Linked DNA regions of Homo sapiens: all the other regions are linked to region 3. The links are contacts of gene promoters, found by promoter capture Hi-C in human tissues and cell types (Jung and others, 2019). All regions are on one chromosome and are shown on one strand. Each heading gives the region's core, a stretch centred on a gene start or on the middle of the fragment in contact. The rest is flanking DNA. Distances are from core to core; before and after follow the strand shown. Region 1 has its middle 63 kb from the start of TERB2. Region 2 has its middle 85 kb from the start of TRIM69. Region 3 holds the start of SPG11 (SPG11 vesicle trafficking associated, spatacsin).

Region 1 (3,084 bases), core at 9-2,508, 230 kb after region 3:
GCCTTGTAGTATAGTTTGAAGTCAGGTAGTGTGATGCCTCCAGCTTTGTTCTTTTGGCTTAGGATTATCTTGGCTATGCGGGCTCTTTTTAGGTTCCATATGAACTTTAAAGTAGTTTTCTCCAATTCTGTGAAGAAAGTCATTGGTAACTTGATGGGGATGGCATTGAATCTATAAATTACCCTGGGCAGTATGGCCATTTTCACGATGTTGATTCTTCCTATCCATGAGCATGGAATGTTCTTCCATTTGTTTGTGTCCTCTTTTATTTCATTGAGCAGTGGTTTGTAGTTCTCCTTGAAGAGGTCCTTCACATCCCCTGTGAAGTTGGATTCCTAGGTATTTTATTCTCTTTGTGGCAATTGTGAATGGGAGTTCACTCATGATTTGGCTCTCTGTTTGTCTGTTATTGCCGTATAGGAATGCTTGTGATTTTTGCACATTGATTTTGTATCCTGAGACTTTGCTGAAGTTGCTTATCAGCCTAAGGAGATTTTGGGCTGAGATGATGGGATTTTCTAAATACACAATCATGTCATCTGCAAACAGGGACAATTTAACTTCCTCTTTTCCTAATTGAATACCCTTTATTTCTTTCTCTTGCCCGATTGCCCTGGCCCATCTTCCAACACTATGTTGAATAGGAGTGGTGAAAGAGGGCATACTTGTCTTGTGCCGGTTTTCAAAGGGAATGCTTCCAGTGTTTGCCCATTCAGTATGATATTGGCTATGGTTTTGTCATAACTAGTTGTTATTATTTTGAGATACATTCCATCAATACCTAGTTTATTGAGAGTTTTCAGCATGAAGCGCTGTTGAATTTTGTCAAAAGCCTTTTCTGCATCGATTGAGATAATCATGTGGTTTTTGTCATCAGTTCTGTTTATGTGATGGATTATGTTTGTTGATTTGCATATGTTGAACCAGCCTTTCATTGCAGGGATGAAGCCGAGTTGATTGTGGTGTATAAGCTTTTTGAGGTGCTGCTGGATTCGGTTTGACTATACTAATTTTGCATCGATCTTCATCAGGGATATTGGTCTAAATTTCTCTTTTTTTGTTGTGTCTCTGCCAGGCTTTGGTATCAGGATGATGCTGGCCTCATAAAATTAGGGAGGATTCCCTCTTTTTCTATTGTTTGAAATAGTTTCAGAAGGAATGGTACCAGCTCCTTTTTATACCTCTGGTACAATTTGGCTGTGAATTTGTCTGGTCCTGGACTTTTTTTTGGTTGATAGGCTATTAATTATTGCCTCAATTTCAGAACATATTATTGTTCTATTCAGAGATTCATCTTCTTCCTGGTTTAGTCTTGGGAGGGTGTGTGTGTCCAGGGAATTATCCATTTCTTCTAGATTTTCTAGTTTATTTCCATAGAAGTGTTTATAGTATTCTCTGGTGGTAGTTTGTATTTCTGTGGGATCTGTGGTGATATCCCCTTTATCGTTTTTTATTGCATTTATTTGATTCTTCTCTCTTTCTTTTATTAGTCTTGCTAGCAATCTATCAATTTTATTGATCTTTTCAAAAAACCAGCTCCTGGATTCACTGTTTTTTTGAAGGGTTTGTTGTATCTCTATCTCCTTCAGTTCTGCTTTGATCTTAGTTATTTCTTGCCGTATGCTAGCTTTTGAATATGTTTTCTGTTGCTTCTCTAGTTCTTTCAATTGTCATGATAGGGTGTTGATTTTAGATCTTTCCTGCTTTCTCTTGTGGGCATTTAGTGCTATAAATTTCCTTCTACACACTGCTTTAAATGTGTCCCGGAGATTCTGGTACGTTGTGTCTTTGTTCTCATTGGTTTCAAAGAACATCTTTATTTCTGCCTTCATTTCGTTATTTACCCAGTATTCATTCAGGAACAGGTTGTTCAGTTTCCATGTATTTGTGTGGTTTTGAGTGAGTTTCTTAATCCTGATTTCTAGTTTGTTTGCACTGTGGTCTGAGAGACAGTTTGTTGTGATTTCTGTTCTTTTACATTTGCTGAGGAGTGTTTTACTTCCAACTATGTGGTCAATTTTGGAAGAAGTGCGATGTGGTGCTGAGAAGAATGTGTATAATGTTGATTTGGGGTGGAGAGTTCTGTAGATGTCTATTAGGTCCACTAGGTGCAGAGGTGAGTTCAAGTCCTGGATATCCTTGTTAGCCTTCTGTCTCATTGATCTGTCTAATATTGACAGTGGGGTGTTATAATCTCCCATTATTGTGTGAGAGTCTAAGTCTCTTTGTAGGTCTCTAAGGATTTGCTTTATGAATCTGGGTGCCCCTGTATTGGGTGCATATATATTTAGGATAGTTAGCTCTTCTTGTTGAATTGATCCCTTTACCATTATGTAATGGCCTTCTTTGTCTCTTTTGATCTTTGTTGGTTCAAAGTCTGTTTTATCAGAGACTAGGAATACAACCCCTGCTTTTCTTTTTGCTTTCCATTTGCTTGGTAGATCTTCCTCCATCCCTTTATTTTGAGCCAATGTGTGTCTCTGCACGTGAGATGGGTCTCCTGAATACAGTACACTGATGGGTCTTGACTCATTATCCTATTTGTCAGTATCTGTCTTTTAATTGGGGTATTTATCCCATTTACATTTAAGGTTAAATTGTTATGTGTGAATTTGATCCTGTCATTATGATGTTAGCTGGTTATTTTGCCCATTAATTGATGCAGTTTCTTCCTAGCATCAATGGTCTTTAAAATTTGGCATATTTTGCAGTGGCTGGTACTGGTTGTTGCTTTCCATGTTTAGTGTTTCCTTCAGGAGCTCTTGTAAGGCAGGCCTGGGGGTGACAAAAGCATTTGCTTGTCTGTAAAGGATTTTATTTCTCCTTCACTTAGGAAGCTTAGTTTGGCTGGATATGAAATTCTGGGTTGAAAATTCTTTCCTTAAAGAATGTTGAATATTGTCCCCCACTCTCTTCTGGCTTGTAGAGTTTCTGCCAAGAGATCTGCTGTTAGTCTGATGGGCTTCCCTTTGTGGGTTACCCAACCTTTCTCTCTGACTGCCCTTAACATTTTTTCCTTCATTTCAACCTTGGAGCGTCTGACAATTGTGTGTCTTGGGATTGCTCTTCTCAAGGAGTATCTTT
Region 2 (3,032 bases), core at 324-2,823, 160 kb after region 3:
CCCTGGCAGGTTTGTGGAATTGCTGAGAATGCTGGGTCAAGGCCAGGCTGAGGCCTTTTCTGCCACCCTGGGAACTCTTCACGTACCTTCAAGCACCTTTGCAGACTCAGGGCTCAGAGCTGGAAAAGTCTTGAGGGTCATTCATCCTACTCATTTAACAGGTCAAGAGAGAAAATTTGGTGAGACAAGGGCAGGGGCACAAGCACTTAATAAGCATAATCAGAGTGCCATTCACCAGGGGAAGAGCATCAGGCTTCTTTATTCTGTCCCTATGACAAGCCTGAGGCTTGTTTTATTTTTCCCACTTAAAGGATGAGGAACCTGAAGCTTGAAGGAGTCAAGTGAGTTGCTCGAGGTCATCAGGAAGCAGAGTAGCCTAACGTGTACTCACCTCTTCCTTACTATAGGGAGCCCAAGACATCTACACAACCCACTGGTCTCTTCCTTTACAAGTGCCTCTTCCAAATGCAGGAGAGCTGTCCCTCCAGTCAGCCACAGGCCCATGGCCAGACACAGACTGGATGACAGAAACTTTCCCAGCCAACCACCTTGGCAATGTCTGTTTTCCCTTCAGAAGCATCATTCCCTCTGGAACCCCATTCCGGAGGAAGGCAGCATGGCAGGAGCAAGGGCCTTCCTCAGGTCCTAGTTTTGTTGGGTGTTCAGCAAGGTGTGGGGATTTAGTGTGTGGTGCAGGGGAAGGCAAGTTGGGGTTGGCCCAGGAGAGCTCTGGCTAGAGCCTGTCTGTCCCTGTGCTATGCTGAAAGCCCAGCTGCTCCCCAGAACCAGCAGCCCCAGTCCCCAAAGGCCAGAGCTGAGTCACTTTCTTCAGTCTGCCCTGGATGACTAGTTCCTTGCCTCCCAGCTTTTTCCGCATTCACCTTCTCACAGATCATGTGTTGGACTCCTTCTGCTTACTGATAACAGTTTTCCCAGAAGTTCCTGAGAATCGTTAAACCTTAATACTGTCAGCGCTGGCAGCCCTATCCCATCTCACATGATGAGTGGCAAAAGATATGATTCCCTTTGGTATTCCTGAAAGCAGATAGCGCAAATATGCAAGAGCACTCGAAAATCTACACAGTATTGTTAAGCTATATAAGCACAGCGTTACATACACATATGTGCCCACAGAATGAAACAGCAATGTGACAAATGCTTTCGAATCACTCAGAAGGCAAAGTTCCTTAAGGGTTCTACAAATTGCCAAGTTTCTTGGGGTCTGAGCATCTAAGATCTGCATATTAACACCTGCTATGGTTTGAGTTTGACCCCACCAAAACTCATGTTGAAATTTGATCCCCAACGTGGCAGTTTTGGGAGCAGATGGCTAATGGGAGGTGTTTGGGTCATAAGGACAGATTCCTCCCAAATGGCTTGGTGCCATTTTCGCGGTAGTGAGTTCTCACTCTAGCAAGACTGGATTCTCTCAGGAACGGATTAGATCCACAAGAGTGGGTTGTTACAAAGCCAGGATGTCCCTTGAGTTTGGCCTCTTCACATGTGTCTGCTTCCCCTTTGACTTTCTCTGCAATGTTATAGTGTAGCACAAAAGCCCTTACCAGAAGGCAGTGCCATGCCCTTAAACTTCCCGGCCTGCAAAACTGTGAGCTAAATAAACCCCTTTATTTGTAAATCACTCAGTCCCAAGTATTCTGTTATAGCAACACAAAATGGACTAAGCCAGTACCCAGTCCAAGTCATTTTATGCCACATGGATTTGCACCTACTTGGAGAGGTCAGAACCAATAAGGAACATTCTACACACACCACCCTTACTTCTTCCTGGTGATTTGTTAAAGTTTGGTGAATGGGCCGGGTGCGGTGGCTCTTGCCTGTAATTCTAGCACTTTGGGAGGCCGAGGCGAGTAGATTGCCTGAGCTCAAGAGACCAGCCAGGGCAACATAGTGAAACCCAGTATCTACTAAAATACAAAAAAATTAGCCAGGCGTGGTGGTGTGTGCCTGTAATCCTGGCTACTCAGGAGGCTGAGACAGGAGAATCTCTTGGATCTGGGATGTGGAGGTTGCAGTGAGCTGAGATCACGCCACTGCACTCCAGCCTGGGCGACAGAATGAGATCCTGTCTCCAAAAAAAAAAAAAAAAAAGGTTTGGTGAATGGCCTTTCTTTAGAGTTGCAGGGGCTCCTGCCCTAAACTTCTCAGTGAAACAGATCTCAATGGTCTTATGCTCCTCCCTCTCCCCCATTGTTTCTTTTGCTGTTTCATTGCTGACAGTGTTCAACAGCAATATGCCCCATCTTTATATATCGTAAGAAACACTAATTCTAGGTTATTACAAGCAGAAATATTTTTGTCCTGAATAACATTGTTACTGGGCCAAAAGATAGATCAGGAGTCCCAGACTTTAGTTTCCTGAAATTGCCAGGTCAGGCACAAGGGGAAGGGGCTCCTGGATATTGACTAACTTGGGTGGGCCTAGCCAGGAGAAAGATAGCAACATGTGCTCTGTACTTTCTGGGAAGATCCCTGAAGCCATCACGGAGGCTCCCCAACTTCCGAGTCGCCTATCTGTTGCTGTGGCAGTGGGAATGGATTACTTAAGGAGAGGGCACTTTGCTCTCTGTAGGTGGGCAAGTTTCCCGGGCTCTCTGTTTTGCCTCCCTCTGGCTTCTTCCTCCTGGGCCCTCTGCTGTGTGCCACAGGGGATCAGGGATTCTCATCTTCCTGAGGACCAGTGGGGAAGAGTGAACATGGCAGCCTCAAGGTTAGCTGAAGCTGCCATTTGCCCAGCCTCTTCCATCCCAACCATGTCAGTGAGCCCAGGTCTGGTTAACTATTGCAGAATGCCTGTAGTAGGGAACTCTGGAAGTGTATTGGGCTGAGGTGGGATTTTCCCTCCCCACAATGCCCTGAGCAATGGAAGTGGTGAGGGGTGAGCGAGTCAGGCTGCTGAATTCTGTTGGCATTCCCTCCTTGTGTAAAATGGGGTGTTGGGGTGGGGCAGCCTCTGCTTGGATTTGGTTGTAAGATAAACCTGGAGGAGAAAAAAAAAGTTTGGTGAACGGTAC
Region 3 (3,170 bases), core at 488-2,987:
AAAAAGTTAAAAAGTCCTTTCTTGGTCCTCCTCCCCTCTAATTTCATGAACTAGCATATGAACGCCCCCTTTATTTCATCTCGGTCTTACCTTCCCTGCTGGGTTCTCAAACACCTAAAGATTTCGGCTTTTCTTTGCCCCATTCCTCTCTTTACAGAGCCACATTCATAGGTACTTGATACTGCTAAATAAACTAATTTCCCCTAAACTAGTTTATAAATAACTTAGTTTATAATAAGTTTATAAACTAAACGCAGAGATTCCTCTTTCGAGCAACTAGACATCAAGGGTAGAGAAGACAAACCCAGAAGAGTTAAGCATTCACTGATGTATCAAATGAATCTCTAAATGTCAGGAGCTGTTAGAGGAGCTGGAGATTCCAAGATTAATAAGACACCTTTTGGCTACTCATCTTAAAGAAAGAGTTGTGAAAATACTTACTATTAATAATTATTAAAAGAACAGGTCAGGCTCAGTGGCTCACACCTGTAATCCCAACACTTTGGCAGGGAGAGGCGGGATCACTTGAGCCCAGGAGCTTGAGACTAGCCTAGGCAACACAGTGAGACCTCATCTCTACAAAAACTAGAAAAATTAGCCAGGCCTGGTGGTGCACGCCTGTAGTCGTAGCTGCTGGGGAGGCTGAGCCCGGGAGGTCAAGGCTGGCTGCCGTGAACCGTGACTGAGCCACTACACTCCAGCCTGGGCGACAGCGACCTTATCTTTAAAAAAAAAAAAAAAAAAAAAAAAGCAGCAGCCCACTCAAAACACTAAGAGGGCGTTCCCAAACTTTATGATGTAAACTCTTAAGTACTGAACCAAGAGTTACGGAAGTACAAAGTAATGCATTATTGTAATCATGTTTGTCTTCCCCAAACATGCGCGCCTCGCAAGAAAGAAGTGTCTTACTCAACTTTTTAGGCACTGCTCCTATGTAACAGCAAGCACACAATATTTGCTGAATAAATGAAGGGACAAACTGGACTCTGTCCTTGAAGAAGAGGACTACATGTGAAAGAAAACGCTATTCACTTCAAGGACATGAAAAAAGTATCAGGATGATTCAAATTAGAGATGATCCTCAGCTGGCATCTTTAACTGAAAGAAATGGGCATGGGACTCGACCCTGTGACAGTTAATCAACCTGTGTTGAATAATGAAAGAATCAGCGCCTCAGCTGAGACCCGTTCCGGGTTCGCCGCAGGTGGCAATGGAGCTGGGTGCCGTCTCCGCCCACCCGGAACAGGAGAGCTGGGCTGCCAGAATGCAACGAGGCGAGCGTTTCAGGTCGGGGGAAAGGTTCTGTGAGGAAACCACGCTCGCCTCTGGGGCGTTTCCTGCAGCTGGCACCCTTCTCCCGCCACCTCTATGGCTGCAGGGAGGCCTCGGCGTGAGCCCTTGGGGCTCAGTCAGCCGAGCCTAGGCTCTGGACTCCCCCAACGGCCCAACTCTCCCTCAGCACTTACTGCCAGAAGGGGCCCTCCAGGCAGCAGCGACCCCCGCCCCGGCTGCCAGGCGTCAAAGAAAGCACTTGGAGGCTGCCCGCAGCCGTCAGGCTCCCCAGAGCCTCCGGCTGTGTGCGCAGCTGCGCCCGGGAGCCGAGCTGCCCCATCGCCTCGGCGGGGACTGGCACCAACAGCATCGGTAGAACCCGCCCCATGGCCGCGGTGCCCCAGCTACCGCCGGCGGAAGCAGCACTCGCGACCCCTTCCTCTGCAGCCATCTTGGCCCGGCGGTTACTTCCGGTCACTTTCGCCGGAACCTGACTGCGTCGTGGGCATGCGCGGTGTACGTAGCGGCTCCCGCTCGGCCTCGTGACTCCCGCGGAGACCTCTCGGCTGTCTCCGGTCGATTCCATTCGTTTCCTGTGGGGGGCAGTACCAGCCTCTCTAGCAAAGCCACATCTGCCCTGACGCCAGTCCCACTCTGCTTAACTGCTCTGGCATGCTTGAAGGCCTAGCTTAGCGTAGCAGGCCGTTGCAGCCGTTCTCGCTCTGTGGCATTGCTCTTTGCCTTCTTGGTCCAGCTGCCTCCAGCTCCCTTGGAACCCAGTTCCTGCCTCTTTTCTTCGCTTTTCTTATTGTGCTGTTCGCTTACAGGCTCTGGGGTGGTGCCATTTCCTTGGTAGCATGGACCGTCTTACAGTGTGGATCCATAGTAAGGGTGTTGACCCGAAATTTGAAGTCAAATAATATCCATTGTAACAGTCAGAGAGACGGGGTAAGTAAGGGGTGGAGATGGTAGAGAGCTCCTGTCTGTTTTCTCAGGGAAGTATGATCCAAGATCAAGAGAAGGAGAGGAGCAAAGAGTTTGAGGTGAGAAGAGGGGTTGAATAGGTATTTTGGTAAAGTCTCCTAAAAGACAACTGTACCTTCTTAACACATCTTCCACATTCAGAACATTTCAGCATAAATGTAACCTCTATTGACAGGCCTCCCCAAGCCATTCAACCTAAGGTCCCTTCTACTGCAGTCTCTCACCTAGTTTTGTTTTTAATCATAGTATTTATCACTACTTGATATTTTCTGCCAGTTCCTGTCCAATAAGAATGTAAACTTCAAAAGAGCAAGGACTTTGTTGCTCACCACTGTCCTGGCTAGTACCTAAAACAGTGCATGTTTCATGAAAGGTACTCCCGCATTTGTTGATCAATGCATGACCTTATTTGTCAAAATAAAAGCAAACTTTTTTTTTCTTTTGAGATGGAGTCTCGCTTTGTCACTCAGGCTGGAGTGCAGTGGCGGGATCTCGGCTCACTGCAACCTCCGCCTCCTGGGCTCAAGCAATTCTGCCTCAGCCTTCCCAGTAGCTGGGATTACAGGCGCACGCCACACCCAGCTAAATTTTTGTATTTTAGTAGAGACGGGGTTTCACCATGTTGGCCAGGCTGGTTTCGAATTCCTGACCTCCGGTGATTTACCTGTCCCAGCCTGGAAGTGCTAAGATTACAGACGTGAGCCACCGTGCCCAGCTGAAACCAAACGTTTTCTATCACAAGGGAGATATATTCAACCTTCTAAGCTTAGCTGGGGCTGTGTTCTTTCTGTAAAAAATGGCAACGTTAAAGCAATTTCTAAGGTTACACTTGTGTTAGCTACAACAAAGCCTTGTCCCTTATAATCAGGACAGTCTTCTCATGCCTGTAAATCCCAGCACTTTGGGAGGCCAAG

What was found. The method cuts DNA at HindIII sites, captures the fragments that hold promoters and counts their contacts. A contact is called where the count stands out against the background at its distance.
Region 1: a fragment that was not itself captured here is called in contact with the fragment with the promoter of SPG11 in region 3 in 1 of the 25 tissues and cell types used here (H1 embryonic stem cells).
Region 2: a fragment that was not itself captured here is called in contact with the fragment with the promoter of SPG11 in region 3 in 1 of the 25 tissues and cell types used here (heart right ventricle).

What each region holds. Positions count from the first base shown.
Region 1 is chr15:44,891,943-44,895,026 of GRCh38, forward strand. No RefSeq gene overlaps it. Among named protein-coding and RNA genes, the nearest start is that of TERB2, 63 kb to the right of the region's middle. The HindIII fragment of the contact is 4,283 bases long and covers 1-3,084 here.
Region 2 is chr15:44,819,829-44,822,860 of GRCh38, forward strand. No RefSeq gene overlaps it. Among named protein-coding and RNA genes, the nearest start is that of TRIM69, 85 kb to the left of the region's middle. RefSeq lists a silencer at 283-577. The HindIII fragment of the contact is 6,198 bases long and covers 1-3,032 here.
Region 3 is chr15:44,661,925-44,665,094 of GRCh38, forward strand. SPG11 (SPG11 vesicle trafficking associated, spatacsin) reads right to left here and starts at 1,738. Exons shown (of 40, transcript NM_025137.4): 1 at 1,467-1,738. The coding sequence starts at 1,723. RefSeq lists enhancers at 833-972, 1,082-2,038, 1,513-1,992, 2,033-2,202. The HindIII fragment of the contact is 12,399 bases long and covers 1-3,170 here.